2 separate regions of the Homo sapiens genome follow, and region 1 is linked to region 2. The links are contacts of gene promoters, found by promoter capture Hi-C in blood cells and fetal thymus (Javierre and others, 2016). All regions are on one chromosome and are shown on one strand. Each heading gives the region's core, a stretch centred on a gene start or on the middle of the fragment in contact. The rest is flanking DNA. Distances are from core to core; before and after follow the strand shown. Region 1 has its middle 110 kb from the start of SNX7. Region 2 holds the start of PLPPR4 (phospholipid phosphatase related 4).

Region 1 (2,700 bases), core at 42-2,541, 490 kb before region 2:
TAATCCCAAACCTATAAATAGTATGCATGAATTTCTTTTCACTTCTTCACAATTTCACAGATAGAACATGCATTTTCACTGTAGATCTTAACAACCTCAGCATATGTTTTTTTTCTTTCCTTATTAAGTCAAGAACTTCTACTTTTTCACTTAAAGGAAGTACTTTATAACTTCTCTTTGGCATACCCAAATTGCGAGTATCACTACTTTTGCGCCTTGGGACCACTATTAAGTAAAATAAGGGTTACTTGAACACAAGCACTGTAAACCATGACAGTCTATTTGATAACCAAGTTAGCTACTAAGTGGCTAATGGGCAGAGAGAATAGACAGTGGACATGCTGGACAAAGGGAGGATTCACGTCTCGGGGTCAGAGTGGGATGGTGTGAGATTTCAGCACACTACTCGGAACAGTGTTCAATTTAAAACTTATGAATTGATTATTTCTGTAATTTTAATTTGATATTTTAGGACCATGGTTGACTTGAGTAGCTGAAACCAAGGAAATCAAAACAATGAGTCTGGGGGGATTACTGTATGGTTAAAGATGTGTGTGGGCACCAAGTTCACATGGAGTGGACTTGTGATGATTAATTTTATGTGTCTACTTGGCTGAGCTATGGTGCCCAGAGAGTTGGTCAAATGTTATTCAGAATGTTTTTGGATGGCATTTACATTTAAGTGCATGACCTTTGAATAAAATATATTGTTTTTGGTGATGCAGGCCTGGATAGGACAAAAGACTGACTTGACCTGGGCAAGAGGAAATTCTGCCAGCAGACTGCCTTGGACCTTCATCTGCAACATTGCCTCTTTCCTAGGTCTCAAGCCTGCTGGCCCACCCTGCAGATTTTTTTTTTTTTTTGGCAGCCTTCATAATCTTGAGAGCCTTCAAATAAATCTCCTTGACTTACAATGGGGTTATATCCTGATAAGCCCATCATAAGTTGAAATATCCTATGTCAAAAATGTATTTATTACACCTAACCTACTGAAGAGATATCTTAGTCTAGCGTACCTTAAATGCTCTGAGAACACTTACCTCAGCCCACAGTTAGGCAAAGTCATCTAACATAAAGCCTATTATATAATATAATATTAAATAGCTCATATAAATTATTGAATATTGTACTGAAAGTGAAAAACAGAATAGTGCATGGCTGCACGAAGTATGGTTTCTAATGAATACCTATTGCTTTTACACCATCATAAAGTTGAAAAACCCTAAATCAAACCATTGTAAGCCAGGCACCATCTGTATATAAAATCCCATTGGTTCTGTTTCTCTGGAGAACTCTTAACTACTACAATGCCTCATAGTCTGTGTGTTGTCTGAGTCCTAATCTCCTCTTCTTATAAGCATGTTGGTCATATTGGATTAGAGATCACCTATATGAGTTCATTTTACCTAACTCATTTTTTTAAAGACCCAACTCCAAATACAGTCACATTCTGAGGTACTGAGGTTGGAAATTCAACATATGAATTTTGAGGGGGATGTAATTCAGCCCATAACAAATAGCGTGATAATAGTGCCTCAGAGAGCTCTGAAGTGAGAATTAAATACGTTAATACATGTCAAGTACTAAATACAATGCCTGGCACACAGCAACAGAAATACAATCACTAGAATTTTTTTTCCACAATAACCTTTTGCGTTCACTAAAATTTTTATGAAAAACTTAATTTGCGTGGCTAATGAGTGTTGGAATTGTGGGGCTCTGTATATCTCAACATTTCCTGGGTTAAGTTAACATAGTAAATTGAGGTATCCCTTTTCTCCTTAGGCAAATCCATAGCAGTGATGAGTACTGGTGATCATTTTTGCAAAATATTCTCAAAATATGTCTCAAGAAAGTCAGAATTAGACCATTGTTTTGGAGTTTTGTTTCTAATCTATAATGAACTAAGAAAGTCCAAATGAATTTATTCGTAACACATGTAAAATATATTTTTAAGTAAATAAGAGCAACCAATTGAGTCATTTATTTAAGAAATACTTATGTACTTATTGAATGATACTATGTGCCAGGCACTATTATACACTGGGAGGAGCCAGTGGTGAAGAAAATGACAAAGTCTGCTCTCTTGGAGCTTATATTCTAGTGGAAAGAGATCTAGAGTAAACAAACGGGCAAGTATTTAATATGATGGCAACAAGTACAGTGAAGAAAACTGTATCAAGGCAAGGGGTTAGAGAGTGGGGCAGCTATATGACACAGGGTAGTCAGTGACTGTCTCTTTGAGAAGACAATGATATATATGAAGTAGTGATGAAGCCAGTCTTGCGGGTACAGAGGAAGGAATATCTCAGGAGAGGGAACAGTAAATACCAATACCCTAAGCCAACATTAAACTTGGTGTCTTCAAGAACAACAGGGAAGCCAGGATGATTGGAGCAATGTGAATGAGGGAGGGGAAGAGTGCTGGGGATGATATCAGAGTGGTCACAGGTAACAGATCGTGTGATATATCCTCTGCCTTTCTGCACAAATTATGTTAAATCATTTTTAAATTGAAAATTTTAAAAGTTTGCTTATGTTCAAATCTTCAAAGTGATCATGCTAACATATTATCGTGTATTTATGACTTTGAAAAGATATGATATACATGGAAGCAGCCTACCCATTGAGACTATTCCAAACATTGTAGCTATTATTTTTATTTAAAATGTATATTAATCTCCATAATTCACAGTT
Region 2 (2,700 bases), core at 159-2,658:
AAGTGAGAAGTTGTGAATGGGAAAATGGCTGGACAGAAAAAATTATAGAATCGTGGGGGCAACTCCAGGACCTACTTGGAGTTTGTGGTCATGAGTTGGATGTGAGACAGCATCATGCGGTTGTGTGTTTTTCTCCAGCCACTTTCAGTTGCTCTGGTAAGGGCAGAGAATTGGGTTCAACTAAGCCGGGATATTATCAGGTGAGTATGGCAAATTGGGAGGCGGAAACAAGCAATTATATTGCTAGACTTTGGAACCCAAGCCTGGCAGAAGAAAGTGGGGGCAAGAGGTGGTGTTGGCAGTGAAATGAGTATATTATTAGATAGGATGGTCCCATACTGCCAAAGACCTATTGGAGGAGCAACTAAAAAAGGGAAATGGATAAATGAGTTGGGAATTGGCCATCACATGCTTGAAATGGAGACTTGGAGATATTGGAAATGGCCTGGGACATGTGATCACAAAATTAGGTCATCTTTATTAGTATAATATCATGTCTCGTGTTTGCTGGGTCTTTCTCTCTTCTATATCAACTTGATACTTCTGGTTGCCAAAGTAATCACAAAATTGAGACTAGCCATGTATACTGCCAACAAGATGAAGGACTTTAGATTATTAATATCTGAAGACATACTTCTTTTTACTGTTATGATTGCAATACTGACACTGTTCTGGGGGTGTGACAGTGAGATTAGAACATACAGTAGCCTCTGGGCTCAATGAGGATGCCCATTACCTGTGCATTCACACATCTGCCTCTCTGGATGCAAGGAACCCACATCATTCCCACACAACCGGTAGTGTTTGTTAGTGGGTGCTTCGATATGGAAGGGAGATAAGGAGTCTCCTAGGCAGAGAATCCCCCGTAGGAGCTGTCATTCCTGGGTAGCAACAAGCTGTCAGTTAATGCCTACCTCAGCCTACTTTTCAGTATGGGATCCAAGATCTCATTTCGTGGAGGTAGGGGTTGGTTTTCTTGCTATGGGTCAGCGCGCTGGAGCAGGGCTTCTGATCCTTAGCATTCTTTAATAGCATTCCTAGAGTGACCTAGGAGGCTCCCCAGGAGGAGACTAGGTGGCTTAGCTCCTCAGCCTAACTACTGCAGAAACCAGGAGTGCGTCCTCCTTTTCGGATTCTTGACGTCAAGCTCCGACAGCCTTGGAGCGTCGCAAGGGCGGTAGAGAGCTGAGGGAGGGTGACAGGGAGGGGAAGCCATTGCAGCAACAGCTTGGAGGAGGGAGCTGGACGTCGTCTCTCGCCAGAAAAACGGGGAGCAGGAGCCAGACTAGGGGAGGAAGAGGACTGGCCCGCTCAGGGAATAGCTGGGTTGCTGCAAAAAGGGGCGGGGAGAAGGCGGGGGCGCTGCATGCAGCGCGCTGGCTCCAGCGGTGGCCGCGGGGAATGTGACATCAGCGGCGCCGGGCGCTTGGGGCTGGAGGAGGCAGCTCGCCTCAGCTGCGCTGTGCACACCTCGCCCGGGGGAGGACGCAGACCCGGGCAGGCGGCAGGGATGTCGGCGAAGGAGAGGCCAAAGGGCAAAGTGATCAAGGACAGCGTCACCCTCCTGCCCTGCTTTTATTTCGTCGAGGTGAGTTGGCCCAGTGCCTTGGCATAATGCAGATCCTCTGGGCATCTCCTGAGCGAATTCAGGTCCTGGACAGTGTTGGAGGCGCAGAGATCCTGCCGGGCGCGCGCGGCTGTCCCCAAATGCCCGACCCTCCCCTCTTCCCCTAGATTTCACAGCAGCTCCCCGAATGTGCCTGTGAATACCTGTCAGCCCGGGGTGATTACCATTAGAGGTGTCGCTGCTGGGTGGCCTGCAGGGAACGGATACCTGTGTGAGTGAGTGTGGTTTTAGTTCCTTGGCCCTCCTGTAGTGCCTGTGTGCACAACGTCCGCTAGTGCCCCAGAGGGGCCATGATGCCCATATTTCGGGATTTGTGTCTTCAACCTGCCGAGTACGTGTCGGGAACTCCGTGTGCACACAGCTATGCCTAGGGCATATGAGGGTTGAAGGTGTTTACATAGTACAAATATTGTTAATTGCTTTTATTGCTCCTGCCCCCCCCCCCCAAATCCTTCTCCTATTATATTATTTTGGTGCTCACATACGCTTCTGAAATTGGATCTGCATCTCTAAACATCAATCATCAATGTACTGGCCTCTTTCCACAGTAAAAAATACATATTATATATGTGTGTATACATAACTATATATAATATTTTAAATCTATGACATCATCTGATTTTACATGATTTGTATCTGAGTATTTACTGTGCTGAGCAGTATTATAGATAAACAATTAAATGCAGATGTATCCGTAATGACCCTCTAACTTACCAAAATGCAGTATTTGAGGGAGAAACAATTCATAGGAGTGTTATAAAGATTGGCAGATACAGTGATTCCGTGTACTGTGCTCCATTGCATTAGGAAGACATTTTTAAGCAAGAGGTTTATTAAATTACAGATACTGAAGGGTTGTATTGCATAGATTTAGGGAAATCAGATGGTTTTAGGCACAAAACTATATTCTGTTTAGTTAGAGTCTGGGTTGCATAGAGAATTATAAGACTGTTGCTGAATCATAAATATCCTTCTCTGGCCATCTTTTCAGCCAAATATGGAGGTTTAGCCCTTCGAAGTGCAAACAGTAGATTCTGTATTCAATGATTGTAAGGCTTATCTGTCCTGAGGAA

What was found. Contacts are between HindIII fragments. The CHiCAGO score rates a contact against its expected background, and 5 or more counts as called.
Region 1: a fragment that was not itself captured here is called in contact with the fragment with the promoter of PLPPR4 in region 2 in 1 of 17 cell types (naive CD8 T cells); the score reaches 5.0 in naive CD8 T cells.

Annotation. Positions count from the first base shown.
Region 1 is chr1:98,774,970-98,777,669 of GRCh38, forward strand. No RefSeq gene overlaps it. Among named protein-coding and RNA genes, the nearest start is that of SNX7, 110 kb to the left of the region's middle. The HindIII fragment of the contact is 8,099 bases long and covers 1-2,700 here.
Region 2 is chr1:99,263,084-99,265,783 of GRCh38, forward strand. It overlaps PLPPR4 (phospholipid phosphatase related 4), which reads left to right and starts at 1,409. Exons shown (of 7, transcript NM_014839.5): 1 at 1,409-1,588. The coding sequence starts at 1,511. The HindIII fragment of the contact is 14,890 bases long and covers 1-2,700 here.